2 separate regions of the Homo sapiens genome follow, and region 2 is linked to region 1. Evidence: promoter capture Hi-C in 16 types of primary human blood cells and fetal thymus (Javierre and others, 2016). All regions are on one chromosome and are shown on one strand. Each heading gives the region's core, a stretch centred on a gene start or on the middle of the fragment in contact. The rest is flanking DNA. Distances are from core to core; before and after follow the strand shown.

Evidence for each region. Contacts are between HindIII fragments. The CHiCAGO score rates a contact against its expected background, and 5 or more counts as called.
Region 2: a contact is called between a fragment that was not itself captured here and the fragment with the promoter of FADS3 in region 1, in 4 of 17 cell types (erythroblasts, M0 macrophages, neutrophils and 1 more). The highest score is 8.9, in erythroblasts.

Annotation. Positions count from the first base shown.
Region 1 is chr11:61,885,361-61,893,135 of GRCh38, forward strand. It overlaps FADS3 (fatty acid desaturase 3), which reads right to left and starts at 6,185. Exons shown (of 12, transcript NM_021727.5): 1 at 5,809-6,185. The coding sequence starts at 6,021. RefSeq lists enhancers at 2,413-2,914, 4,516-5,205, 5,206-5,894, 5,484-5,653 and silencers at 5,854-5,983, 6,084-6,893. The HindIII fragment of the contact is 11,072 bases long and covers 3,995-7,775 here.
Region 2 is chr11:61,938,956-61,946,224 of GRCh38, forward strand. It overlaps a transcript of RAB3IL1 not described here. Among named protein-coding and RNA genes, the nearest start is that of BEST1, 7.8 kb to the right of the region's middle. RefSeq lists enhancers at 2,898-3,552, 4,722-5,223 and a silencer at 7,094-7,257. The HindIII fragment of the contact is 6,471 bases long and covers 1-5,500 here.

The DNA.
Region 1 (7,775 bases), core at 4,935-7,434:
ACAAATCCCCATCTCACAAGGCTGCTGGGAGGATGCAGTCGGTGGCGCTAAAGCACTTAGAAGGGGCCTGGCGGTTGGCAAGAGCTCCACAGCCCAGCTCTTTCTGAGCCCTGCAGCCCTGATGAGCCTCCTCCTGAGAGTCCACTTAGAGGTAAGTGCCTGCAGGAGGGGCCTACAGGTGTCAGGGAAGAGAGTGGAGAAGCTGCTTCTCTGCCTGCCTGTTAAGTCCTGGCCAAGCCTGAGGCTGGGAGAGAGGAGGGGCTGGCAGCCTCCTTCCACCCCAGAGACACAGCAGGGCAGGGAGGGATTTTGGGTCACTCCCTAGGAGAATCAAGAATGTGCCAGATCAGTCAGGAAGGGGGTGAAGCAGGGAGTGTGGCAGGGCTGCTGAGGGCTCAGGTGGTCGGGGTCTGTCCTCGCTGCCTTCTCATGCCTTTGTAGGATGTTGGGGTGACAGGGCTATGCCTCAAAGGACACCCCCAGGACATTCCTGCCTCTCCCCTCTCCCAGGTGGGTGGGTACAGCAGGAGCGTGCCCAGCACACCATGCTCCGTCCCATCCTCTCCCTGGCGCCCGTCAGAGGAGGCCAGTGGGGAAGCACTATCAGTATCCCATTTTACAGATGAGGAAACTGAGGCCCCAAGAGGTCCCAAAGAAACACAGCTCTAAACATGGGACATCCAAATTTGGCCTGTGTAGCGGAGCCCAAGTCGAAGGCAGACACCCCCAAAAAGCTACCCCTGTCCCCCAGCACCCCTCAATGTCCTGGTGAAGGGTGGGCATATATGTGAGGGCTCCTGCAGCCAGGACGCTTGGCCTCACAAGTGTCCCTGACCCCACAGTAGCCCCAAAGCAGCTATACCCTCTGGCTCCTGGTCCTCTCTCCACCACTGACCTCTGGCTCCACTACTGGAGCCTGGCTGTTTCATCAGAAACCCGCAGGAAGAGACCGGGAGGGATGCCCAGGGGCAGTATCCTGCTGACGCCAGACAATCCCAACTCTTCCCACAAGGAAGGAGCAAGGCACTGCAGCCCCTCTGGGGAAGGGGCCTGGGTGGGCGGTGGCCTTGCAGAAAACGCCTGCGGGGAGCCCAGAGCAGTCACACTTCATGGGAGTGGCCATTAGGGGACTTTCAAGGCAGTCAATGTGGTAGGAGGGAGTGGAGTGGCTCTGGAGCCACCCCCCAACCAACTCCTGTGGCCTCAGATCTGCCTAATCCTAGTCCTGTCCCTCCCCAGCTCCCACCCAGACACAAACCCCACCCTCGTGGCCCGAGTACAAAGGCCCTACCCTTCAAGGGTCCTGAGAAGGTTCCATTACACCCCCCAGTTTCAAACTCAGTCTCCTCATCTACAAAATGGGCTAACAATAGGACTTACCTCATAAAGTTGTTAGGCGAATTCAATCAGTTACCACATCTAAACCCCTCAGAACAGTGCCTAGTCAATAACTGTTGGCTGCAATTACTATGAAGCAGCCTCTGCTGCAGCACTGGCCACTCCCTCCTCCAGCTCAGGCCAGGCTCAGAGAACCACCTAGAAGGAGGGTCCTAAGGCAGAGGGCTCAGGGGGTCTGCTGGAACTTGGATTTTCCCACAGTTGTTAGGGCTTCAGCCGAAAGGGCACCAGGGGCTGCTGGGAAACTCCTCATCCGCCCTGAGTTGCTGTGGGCAATGCATTCACCACACCCATGAATAGAGCTTTGTTGCCCATGGTAACCAGGCACCCAGGTGCCCAGCACCACCCTCATAGTGTGCCCAGGACAAAAGCATTCTCATCCTCATCACACTAATGGGGAAACTGAGACCCAGAAGTGAAAGGATGTGTCCAAGATCATAGAGCGAGGCCAGGCTGGCTCCCTCTCTAAAGACAACATGAAGCTAAATCTAATGTGTCTAATGGCTCTCACTGGACCAGTGTGCCTGTGTCCACAGCCTCTCTTGCTCTCTGCCCTGGCCACACTCTACCTCTTCTGAGTGGCCTCCCTTGGGGGAGGGCAGGTCTCCATCCTCCCTTCTCTTACCCTTCTGGAAGGCTCTGCCTTCACTCTCTCCATTAAGGATCCTTTTAAATGTCCATCAGACTCCCCAGGCTTCCCTGCTGTGCTCTCTGGGGCTCCCCATCCTCTTTAAAATAAAGCCAAAGTCCTTCCGAGGACACAAACATCCAGCATGAGCCAGCCCGGCCGCCTCTAGACCTCACTGCCAGGCCCTCTCTCCACTGCTCTCTGCTGCAGCCATACTGTATTCCTGGAACACAGGACGCACGGTCCCACCTCTGAGCCTTTGCTCTAGCTGATCCCTCTGCTGTGAACTCATTCCCTGTAGAAGTTTTGCTCACAGCTACATCTTCAGAGGTGAGAACCATGCATGACACAGAGAAGATGCTCACTGATGGATTTAATGAGTCAAACATTGAAGAATCAATGAGTGCCGGAAATAAACAGGATAGGTGGCAGCATAGCATGCCCTTAAGAACATGGCTGTGGATTCAAATCCCAGACCAATCACTGAATTTCAAGCCACTTTGCCTCTCTGAGCCTCTGTTTTCTCATCTGTCAAGTGGCAATAACAATAAATGGTACGTGCCTCATAGGGGCACCTTGAGGATTAAAAGAGAGGGTTTCAATAAATCAAGTACTGATTTCAAAACCTGGCACATAGTAGGCACTCAGCACATGGCCCTTATATACTTATGGCCAGCAGCGGCTGGGCCTCATCCCTCCCTGGCTGGCTCCACTAGTATCAGGCTGCCTATGACTCTCAGACAAACCTGGCCAAGGGCCCAGAGTACTCTCCCCAGGGCACCCGGCCTTGTGTCCCAAGATGGCCACAGGCTGACTTCATGGCACAGAAACTCTGGGAATTTCCTGGCAGGAAGGCTTCATTGCCTGGACTTGAGAACAGCTGATGGGCAGCCGGGGCTGGTGAGAGGTGACCGCTGGAACACATCCCTGGCAACTGGCTGCCCCACCTCCACCTGAGGCCACCGCCCGGGATGGGATGCCTGGGGCCTGGGCTCAACTACACAGGGCACTGGGCTGGCCCAACCCCTGGTCTACCCTGTGGGTTCATCATGGACAAAGACTGATTGCACCATCCCAGCAACCTCACAGTCCCTTTGGCCTGAATGGACCAAGTATTTCTGGCAACTCTAGTCCAGGCTGTGGGGCCTTGAGGGAGCTAAGAGACAGCCTAAAGTGTCCCTTTCCTACTTCAGATAGGACCGTAACCAAATAAGGTCACCCAGGAAAGGGGTAGCCGTGCAGGGCTGTCCCACCATACGCTGCAGTTTGCAGGGCACGCTCACACTTAGGGGCCAGCAGCATTTACCGAATACAAACTACTACCTGGCAGCCCTGGGCCATGGGCTTGAGGAGACACAGTCCTGCCCTCAGCCAGCTCACTGTCTGCCCCAGCTCTCCCACTTTACAGATGAGTAAACTGGGGCACAGAGGAGTGACATGCCTGCTTCAAGGTCGCTCAGTGCCTCCAATAGCAGAGCTGGCACCCGGCCCCAAGGAGCAGAGAGATGTTTTTTGTTTGTTTGTTTGAGACGGAGTTTTGCTCTTGTTGCCCAGGCTGGAGTGCAATGGCGCGATCTCGGCTCACCGGAACCTCCGTCTCCTGGGTTCAAGCGATTCTCCTGCCTCAGCCTCCCAAAGTGCTGGGATTACAGGCATGCGCCACCACGCCTGGCTAATTTTGTATTTTTTTAGAAGAGACAGGGTTTCTCCATGTTGGTCAGGCTGGTCTCAAACTCCCGACCTCAGGTGATCTGCCCACCTCAGCCTCCCAAAGTGCTGGGATTACAGGTGTGAGCCACAGCGCTCGGCCTGAGATGTTTTTAAAACAGATATTATTGGCTGCGAATCAATGAGAAAACTGTGTGATGGAAGTCTCAGGATCCCAAGCTAAATGTTAAGTCAGTAATTCCACTTGGGAGGAACCCCAGCATGGGCCTGGCACCAGGCAGGAAACAGTGATGAAATAAAAGCTTTCTGTATCCCAGCCGGGCGTGGTGGCTCACGCCTGTAATCCCAGCGCTTTGGGAGGCCGAGGTGGGTGGATCACGAGGTCAGGAGTTCGAGACCAGCTTGGCCAACATGGTGAAACCCCGTCTCTACTAAAAATACAATATGCTGGGCGTGGTGGCGCGTGCCCGTAATCCCAGCTACTCGGGAGGCTGAGGCAGGAGAATCGCTTGAACCTGGGAGGCGGAGGTTGCAGTGAGCCAAGATGGCGCCATTGCACTCCAGTCTGGGTGGCAGAGCAAGACTCTGTCTCCGGCGGTTGGTGGGGAGTAAAGTTTTCTGTATCCATACTGTCCTCTAGGTTACAAAAGACTAGAGCAGGCCGGGAGTGGTGGCTCATGCCTGTAATCCCAGAACTTTCGGAGGCTGAGGCAGGAGGAATGCTTGAACCCAGGACTTTGAGACCAGCCCGAGCAACATAGTGAGACCCTGTCTCTATTTTTAAACAAATAATAATAAATAAAATAGATACTTTTTTAGAAAAAGACCAGAGCAGGCATCCACAAGACTCCTTGAAGGGAGGCCAGGGCTCAGCAAGGCCTTTGGGGAGAAGCCGTGCCCCTCACCTCGCCACGCCCTGGCAGAAAGGCAGGCACACACACCACACTCACCCAGACATGCAAACACCTGCACGCTCAAATACTGCCCCCAGGCTGCTTCATCCCACGGCTGTGCTGTCCCCTCGGGCCAGCGTCTGGCGCCTGAACAGCCACGGACAAGGCGTTCTCTTTTTTTTTTTTTTCTTTTTTTAGAATTTCAGGAGGATTCTTATTCTCACTCCTCAGCTTCATGGGGTGGAAGGGGAAAAGAGGGGCTTTCTTCCTCAAAGAGTCCAGTGAAGATTGTCCAACATGCTGGAGATGGCAATCGGCAGAGAGCAGGTGGCCCTGTCAAGAGGGACGCCGACAGTCCTGGGACTGGACAGAACCTCCGCTGCTGCCCAAAAAGCCAGCATTCAGGATTCATGTCCTCGGGTCTTGAAGACCTTCCTGATACCCAGTGTGGCCAACCTAGAAATTTGGAGGGTCAAGGACAGGGCATCGTGGCCCCAACCCCTATTATGCAGGTGGGTAACTAAGGAAAAGGGGCTGGTCGGGCTGCTCCACCACTGGACTCCAGCCAGACAGTACCCTGGGGCCAGGCTACATCCCTGCCTGTCTAGACAGGGGCTGGGATTGGGAAGTTGGGGTCCCCAGGGGCCAGCCTGTTCCTGGGGTGACTGTGCTTCCAGGAGAGGCCCACCCAGCCTGGCTGGCAAAGCCCTCCCACGTGCAGCTGCTAGCCCGGAGAGGTGAGTCACTGTCCCTGAGCCCTTTACAGAAGCTCTTGGGAAAGCCACAGACCTCAGGCCGGCCCAGCCCCCAGCCTCTAATGGCATGTCCTTACCGGCCCCTGGGGACCCTGCCCTGCCCTACCCCTAGCACTCAGCAAGCACCCAGCATGGGGACCCAGAACTGAAACAGGGACCTGGGAGCAACAGGGCAGCCCCTCACCCAGGGCAGGCTCTGCAGCATGACACACCCACCTCTGAGGCCCCCTCCTCCCCCGCAGACCTGCTCCGTGGACAGCTGCGGGTCCTCCACGCAGGGAACTGCCCTCCCTACCCCACATCTGGCCCTGGCTAGTCCACCCCAACTCTGGGTCCCGGCGTGGAGGTCAAAGGTCAGCGAGGGGAGGGAGGATGCTAAGGCCCCACAGGTGGAGCGGGACATCACGCCCACGACCGAGCTCCAGGCTCCACCCGCCGGTGGGTGGCTTCCTTATGGCTTCCTTACCGTGGCGTCCTCAGCGCCGTGGTGGCCGATGAGGCGGCTGCCCCCTGGGTGCCGCTGTGCCCAGCGGCTGATGTCGTAGACGCGGCGCTCGATGACCAGCCACTTGTCGCCGGGCTGGTCGTGCGCGCGGATCTGCTCCCAGCAGAAGGTGGGCAGCGGCGCCCCCGGCTGCGCGGGTCCCTCCCGCGGTCCCGGCTCCCCGACGCCGCCCATGCTGCACGCACGAGTCCTGGGGATCCCAGGCGGTGGCCGAGGTCCGAGCAAGACCCCGAGGGAAGCGAAGAGCGCTCCCGGGCGCCGCCTCCGCCGCCGCCCGCTGCTCCGGCCCCGCCCTGCCGCCGCGGCCGCCGTACGAGCGAGCGTGCGCCTCCCGGCTCGCGGCGCAGGGAACTCCCCGCCTTATAACCGCGCGGACGGCGCCCGCCTCGCCTCGCCTGCCCCCCCGCCCCCGGCCAGGCCCCGGCCCCCAAGGCTGGCTGACCCCCCGCGTCCGCTCCAATCCAGGCGCGGGGCCTCGGTCTCCATTGGCCGCCAGGGAGGGCGGCGTCGAGGCGGCCCGCCCCTCCCGGGAGGACAGCGGCCGCCACCCAGCCCTGCCCCGGGGCACCGTCCCGCCCCCTTTTCCCGGGCTGCCGGCTTCCAGGTTCTTGACTCCACCCGGAGCGCGGGGCCTGGGGACACAACACGCACCTGTTGGGCGTCCCGCAGCGCCTCGCCACGCCCTCGGGAACCGGAGGCGGAGTCCCGGTCTGTGAGCAGCGGGGCCTGGGGGGCTTCCAGCCGCGCGTCCTGCAACGTCAAATCCAGTGCGCCCAGAGGGGGGACGCTGTCTCGGGGTGCCTGTGAACAGCCTTCAAACCATGGGCCCCAATCTCTGCGGGGCCCCCACCGCCGCTGCAGCTCTCTCGGAGCCCTCTGCTGGGGGCGGGTGGCCTCCCCTCCGCCCTCGGCGCTGCAGGGCTGGGGATGCCCAGGGGTGGCCAAGGGGGAGGTAGGGGAGCAGGAGGGCACTGGCGCGTGGAGGCGGGCGCTGCCATCCATGGGCTGAGGACACCTGTGCTTGTTACTGCTTCCCCGCCCCTCTTTTTTGTTTTGAGACAGGAGTCTCACTCTGTCGCCCAGGCTGCAGTGTAGTGGCATGATGTCGGCTCACTGCAGCCTCAACATCCTAAGCTCAGGAGATACCCCCACCTCAGTCTCGGGAGTCCCCAGCTGGGACTACAGGCGCGCCCCATCATACCCGGCTAATTTTTGGTGTTATTTTATTTTTGTAGAAATGGGTCTTGCCATGTTGCCCAGGCTGGTCTTGAACTCCTGGACTCAAGTGACCCTCCCGCCTCCCAAAATGCTGGGATTACAGGCATGAGCCACTGCACCCGGGCCCCATCCGCTTTTTTTAATTTAAATACATTCAAGTCCTTTTGAAAGTGTAGGTAGCTCCCCTAATTGCTTCGGATTTCTTTGTGATAAATATACCTGTTCCTAAAAGTTAAGCGTTCACAGCAGCAAGGAATTCAAATCAGGCTAAAGTTACTTCCAGAGCGCTGGTCGTCAATCTTCCATCAGAACCACCTGAAAGGCTTCCATCAGAACCACCCAGGAGGGTTATTCGGTGGGTCTGGTGTGGAGGCAGAGACTTACATGGCCAGTTCACAGGTGATGCTGACCGGCTGGTTGGGGAAATGCACTTAGAAAACCCTAAGTATATTTCTCTGATATGCTAATATTTTGTCTTGGTCTAAAGAGGACCAGTATCCCCAGAAGGGCAGAGGGGGCGAGTTCTCCCTGGTACCAGGAGCTCCTGCCTTTGCTTGTCAGGACATCCAGCAAGGCCCATGATGTCATCAGGCACCGGGGCTGCCTGGGCCCTCTCCACTGAGGCACCCACTGACCATATCCTGGAACCCCAACCTGGCACATGTGTGTGGGGGTGCAAGAGCATGGCTGGTGGCCCTGGCCCAAGGGGG
Region 2 (7,269 bases), core at 1,015-3,514, 50 kb after region 1:
TAAATAAATAAAAAGAATAGTTGGAAACGTCAATACTTCACTTTCAATAATGGCTAGAACTACACACTAGATAAGGACATAGAAGACTTGAACAGTGCTAACTCTACCCAACCATAGCAGAATATACATTCTTCTCAAAGTACACATAAAACATTCCCCAGGATAGACCATATGTTAGACCACAAAATAAGTCTTAATAAATTTTAAAGAATTGAAATCATATGAATTATCTTTCCAACCACAAAGGAATGAAATTAGAAATAACAGAATTAAAAGTGAAAAATTCACAAATATGTGGGAATTAAGCAACACACTCTTAACTGCCCCACGGATCAAAGAAAAAATCACAAGAGAAATTAGATGAGATGAATGAAAATGAAAATACAGCATACCAAAACTTATCGAATACAGCAAAAGCAGTACTCAAAGGGAAATTTATAGCTGTAAAAACCTACATCAAAGAGAAGAAAGATCTCCAATTAATAACCTAAACTTCCAATTTAAGGAACTAGAAAAAGTAGAATAAACTAAACCCAAAGCAAGCAAAAGAAAGAATAAAAATTAAGAGTGGAGATAAATGAAATAGAAAAGAGAAAAACAACAGAAAGAATCAATGAAAACAAAAGTTGATTCTTCAAAAAGATCAAGAAAATTGATGAAACTTTAGACTGACCAAAAAAAAAAAAAGAAGACTCAAATTACTAAAGTTAGGAATAAGGCTGGAGTGGCTCACGCCTGTAATCTGAGCACTTTTGGAGGCCAGTGCGGGGGAATTGTTTGAGCTCAGGAGTTCAAGACCGGCTTGGGCAACATAAGGAAACCTTGTCTCTGCTAAAAATAAAATATTAAAAAATTAGCCAGGTGTGGTGGCACATGTCTGTAGTCCCAGTTATTTGAGAGGCTGAGGCAGGAGGATTACTTGAGCCCAGGAGATTGAGGCTGCAGTGAACTATGATCTTGCCACTGCACTCCAGCCTGGGCAACAGGGTGAGACTCTGTCTCAAAAAAAAAAAAAGGAACGAAAGTAGAAAAATTACTACTAGCTGGACATGGTGTCTCGTGCCTGTAGTCCTAGCTACTGGGGAGGTTGAGGCAGGAGGATTGCCTTGAGCCCAGGAGTTCAAAGCTGCAGTGAGCTATGATCGTACCACTTCTCTCCATCCTGGGTGATAGAGCAAGATGCTGTCTCTAAAGTAAATACATAGGCTGGGTGCAGTAGCTCACGCCTGTAATCCCAGCACTTTGGGAGGCCGAGGCTGGCAGATCACCTGAGGTCGGGAGTTCGAGACCAGCCTGACCAACATGGAGAAACCCTGTCTCCACTAAAAATACAAAATTAGCCAGGCATAGTGGCGCATGCCTGTAAACCCAGCTACCCGGGAGGCTGAGGCAGGAGAATCACTTGAACCTGGGAGGTGGAGGTTGCGGTGAGCCGAGATCATGCCATTGCATTCCAGCCTGGGCAACCAAGGGTGAAACTCCGTCTCAAAAAAAAAGAAAAAAAAAAGTAAATACATAAATGAATGAATAAAAATTAAAAATAAAAATGTGGCCAGGCATAGTGGTTATGCCTGTAATCCTGGCATTTTGGGAGGCCAAGGCGAGAGGATTCCTTGAGCCCAAGAGTTCGAGACCAGCCTGGGCAAGATGGTGAGACCCTATCTCTACAAAAAGTTTAAAAGTTAGGCTGGGCGCGGTGGCTCACGCCTGTAATCCCAGCACTTCGGGAAGACGAGGTGGGCGGATCACTTGTCAGGGGTTTGAGACCAGCCTGGGCAACATGGTGAATCCTTGTCTCTACTAAAAATACAAAAATTAGCGGGGCATGGTGGCACTTGCCTATAGTCCCAGCTACTCAGGAGGCTGAGGTGGGAAAATGACTTGAACCCGGGAGGTGGAGGTTGCAGTGAGCCGAGAATGCACCACTGCACTCCAGCCTGGGCAACAGAGCAAGACTCCATCTCAAAAAAAAAAATGTAAAAATTAGCCAGGCACTGTGGCACGTGCTTGTAATCCCAGCTGCTTGGGAGGCTGAGGCAGGAGGCTCCCTTGAGCCTAGGAATTCAAGGTAGCAGTGAGCTATGATCACACAGCTGCACTCCAGCCTGGGTGATAAAGTGAGATTCTGTTTCTATAAATAAATAATAAAATAAATAAAACATTTTAAAAAGAAAAACTACTACCAACCTTACAGATACAGAAAGAATTATAGAACACTATGAAAAATTGTATGACAACAAACTAGATAACCTAGATTAAATGAACAAATGCCTAGAAACCAAAACTTCCTCAAGAAGAAACAGAAAACTTGAATAGACCTCAAACACAAGATTGAATCAGTAATCAAAAAACTTCCAATAGAGAAACGATTAGGAGCAAATAAAGAATAAATGCCAATCCACAAACTGTTCCAAAAAATAGAGAAGAATATACTTCATAACCCATTCTCTTGTGCCAGTATTATCCTAAAACTAAAGCCAGACAATATCTCACAAGGAAAGAAATATAAAGACCAGGCTGGGCGTGGTGGCTCACGCCTGTAATCCCAGCAATTTGGGAGGCTGAGGCAGGTGTATCACGAGGTCAGGAGATCGAGACCATCCTGGCTAATGTGGTGAAACCCCATCTCTACTAAAAATACAAAAAATTAGCCAGGTGTGGTGGCAGGCACCTGTAGTCCCAGCTACTCGGGAAGCTGAGGCAGGAGAATGGCGTGAACCCAGGAGGCGGAGCTTGCAGTGAGCCCAGATCGCACCACTGCACTCCAGCCTGGGCAGCAGAGCAAGACTCTGTCTCAAAAAAAAGAAGGAATATACGGACCAATATCCCTTATGAATATAGATGCAAATATCCTCAACCAAATACTAGCAAATCCAATCCAGCAACATGTTAAAAAGATTATACATCGTGTCCATGTGGGATTTATCATGGGAATGCAAGCAAGGTAGTTGAACATATGAAAATCAGTGTAAAGGCCAGGCATGGTGGCTCATGCCTATAATCTTAGCACGTTGTGAGGCCTAGGCGGGCAGATCACTTGAGGTCAGAAATTTGAGACCAGCCTGGCCAGCATGGTGAAACCCCACCTCTACTAAAAATACAAAAATTAGCCAGACATGGTGGCGTGCTCCTGTAATCCCAACTACTTGGGAGGCTGAGGCAGGAGAATCGCTTGAAACCAGAAGATGGAGGTTGCAGTGAGCCATGATCGCACCACTGCACTCCAGCCTAGGCAACAAGAGCAAAACTCCGTCTCAAAACAAACAAACAAGATGTGCTTTGTTAAACAGATGCTTGAAGGCAGCATGATCGTTAAGAGTCATCACCACTCCCTAATCTCAAGTAATCAGGGACACAAACACTGTGGAAGGCCGCAGGGTCCTCTGCCTAGGAAAACCAGAGACCTTTGTTCACTTGTTTATCTGCTGACCTTCCCTCCACTATTGTCCCATGACCCTGCCAAATCCCCCTCTGTGAGAAACACCCAAGAATTATCAATAAAAAAATAAATTAAAAAACAAACAAACAAACAAACAAAAAACACCTGAGCTCAAACAATTCTCCCTCCTTGGTCTCCCCAAATGCTGGGATGACATGCATGAACCACTGCACCTGGCAAATTATGACATGATCTTATATGTAGTAAACCCTAAAGAATCCACACAAAAACTATTACAGCTAGTAAATAAATTCAGCAAAGTTACAGGATACAAGATTAATATACAAAAATCAGCTGTATTTCCATACATTAGCAATAAACAATCTGAAAATAAAATTAAGAAAATAATGCCATTTACAAAATGGAACTTTATTCTTATTAAAAAGAATAAGAGACTTCGGAATATTTTTAACCAAGAAGATGCAAGACTTGTACACTGAAAACCCTACGACAGTGGTGAATGAAACTAAAGAATACCTAAATAAATGAAAAGACATCCTATGTTCATGGATTGGAAGACTTGATGTTGTAAAGATGACTAAGTGATCTACAGACTCAGTGTAATCCCCATCAAAATTCCAACTGCGTTTTTTGCAGAAATGGGCAAGGCGATCCTAAAATTCACATGGAATTGCAATGGACCCCAAATAGCTAAAACCATCTTGAAAAAGAACAAAGTTGGAGAACTTACACTCCTGGTTTCGAAATTTCTACGTAGCTACATAATTAAAACAATGAAATATTGAAGTGACATATAGCTCAATAGAATTGATAGTCCAGAAATAAACCCATATATGTATTATCAATTGATTTTCAACATGTATGCCAAGACAAGTCAATAGGAAAGAATATGCTTTTCAACAAATATACATGGACACCTGGATAGCTACATGCAAAAGAAGAAAGTTGGACCTTTACCTCAAATGATACATAAAAATTAACTCAAAATAGGTCAAATTCCTAAATGTAAGAACTAAAGCGATAGAAGTTTTAGAAGAAAACGTACGGGTAAATCTTCATGACCTTGGATTTGACAGTGTCAAAATTTATCTAAATTAAAATTTTAATGTTTAAAATTCAAAATGAATTAAAAACTTTCATGCATCAAGGAACCTCCTCAAGAAAGTAAAAAAGATGATCTACAGAATGGGAGAAAATATTTGTAAATCACGTGCTTGATAATGGTCTAGTATCCAGAATATATAAATAATTCTAACAACAACAAGAAGGCAAACAATCCAACTGAAAAAATGGGCAAAAGACTTGGATAGACATTTCTCCAATGAGGATAAACAAACAGCCAATAAGCACATGAGAAGATACTTAACATCGTTTGCCATCTGGGAAATGAGAATCAAAACCACAATGAGATACTACTGCACACCTACTAGGATGGCTTTAGCATCAGTAAATATGTAAACACTACATACATAAGTGGAAAAGGTGAATTTTACAGGACACGGATTGCCCCTCAATATTAAAATTATAAAAAAAAGACTGGAAGGAAATACATCAAAATGATAACCTTGTTTGGGAGTTTGTTTTGTTTTGTTTTAAACTGCTCTGTAGTTTCCTAATTGTTTATAACAAGCATTTAGTCCTTTTGAATTGTAAGCAATAGTCTTAAATCTCTCTTATAGTTGTATAAAGCAGGCATACATGAATCTTCCTCCCCTCCCCTCCCTTCCTCCCTCCTTCAAAATAAATTAAAAACTTTTGTGCATCAAGGAACCTCCTCAACAAAGTAAAAAAGACGACCTACAGAATGGAGTCCTCCCTACCTCCTTCCCTTCCTTCCCTTCCTTCCTTTCCTTCCCTTCCTTCCCTCCTTCCTTCCTTCCTTCCTTCCTTCCTTCCTTCCTTCCTTCCTTCCTTCCCTCCTTTGTTGAGACAGGGTCTTGCTCTGTCACCTAGTCTGGACTGCAGTTCTGAGCTGGTGTGATCATAGCTCACTGCAGCCTCAAACTCCTGGGCTCAAGCAATCATCCGACCTCAGCCTCCCAAAATGTAGGGATTGTATGTGTGAGCCACTGCACCAGGGCAGATTCTGCATTGGTAACAAGCTTCCAAATGATGTAACTGGGCCCCAGACCTCAGTTTGAGAAGCCAGGTTCTAGAAGTCAGCAGCAGGAAGGAATGGACCAATTAAGCAAATCAGCAAAGCAGAGGGACCACAGAAAAAAGGACGATGCTCCCGGGCCCCTCCCCCGGGACATATTTACACTAAAAATTATTCACTTTTCTATCTGAAGTTCTTATTTGCCTGACTGTCCTGTAGTTGTTTTGCCAGGATGTCATCTAATGTTTGTTTTTGTTTTGGACACGGAGTTTCGCTCTTGTCAACCAGGCTGGAGTACAATGGTGCAATCTTGGCTCACTGCAACCTCTGTCTCCCGGGTTCAAGTGATTCTCCTGCCTCAGCCTCCCCGAGTAGCTGGGATTACAGGCATGCGCCACCATGCCTGGCTACTTATCTTTGTATTTTTAGTAGAGACGGGATTTTGCCATGTTGGCCAGGCTGGTCTTGAATTCCTGACCTCCCGTGATTCACCCGCCTCAGCCTCCCAAAGTGCTGGGATTACAGGTAGGAGCCACCACACCTGGCCTGGCCTGTAGTTTTATTGGCTAAGTCTGGTAGCCCTAGCATGGGTGGAGAAGGCTGTAGCTGTGGAAGCCCAGCCAGTCTGCATCTGAGGCAGGGAAAGGCAGCTAAGGCAGCCTGCCGTCAGCCCATTGACCTGACAGATAGGGGCCAATGTGGCTTACTCCTCATCTAGCCTACCCTTGTGCCGTCCTCTCCAACATCCATCCACCTGACAGATGGATGACCCTTCCTCTTCCCCAGGGGTTGTTTTGATGAGTAGATGACATTTCTAAAGAGCGCTTAGTGCACTGCCTGACACCTGGTAAGTGGTCAAGATGGGGAGAACTGATTGTTTCTACTATTCTTTCCCTCTCACAGTGGCCACCGCAGCGCTAAACACGGTCGGTCGGCATTCAGTGCTCGCCGTGGAAGCGAACCGCAGGAGCATCCTGGGGCAGCGGGGAGTTGCTGCACTCACCTAGACAGGCGGCCTACTGTGACTTCAGGCAAGTCATTTTCCTTCTCTGTGCCTCAGTTTCTTTGTCTGCAAAATGAGCAGCTGGACTAGAAACTTACCATTCTTTCACAGCACGTCAAACTCAACATGCCCATTTGAGCTGAAGACACTGAGGCTACTCACTGGGTGTGAACCTTTGACAGCATCCAGGCCCTGCACAGTTGTCTAGGAGAAGCCTGACCCATGATGTCCTTTCCGCTACCCACCTGCCACGAGCCCCAGTTCTGAGCTGGAGGGGTGGGGGTGGGTGGAAGGTGGATAGTGGTCAGTGCCTCACCTGGCCGACTGCAGCCTGGCAGAGTCCATGGGGGACCTCGCAGCACAGTGGATCCTCTTGCCTTGTGTCTCTAGTTGGTCCAGCTCTGGTCTATTCCATGCTATTCCGTTGTCATGGGCAGGACTGGGTTTGATGAAGTTGGACCTAGGTGTATCCCAGCCTCTCCTGGTTTCTGTCGTCTTTCTGTGGTGCCCAGGGCTTATGTTTCTATCTCTTTGAATGTTGAGTTTACTCCGTCCTTCAGGGATCAGGGCTGCCTGAGCTCAGGGTGGAGGTGCTGTTGTCTGTCTGGCTTCCGGGCCCTGGACTGGCAGTGTCCCCCAGCACCCCTGTCCAGCTATGCCAAGCCCCCTCCTTTTCTTTCTTGGCCTCTGCCCTATTTGTTCTGTGACTGGCCCAAGAGAGGGGTGTGGGCTGGCAGGTGTCCCACATAAAGCCTGGAGGCAGCATCC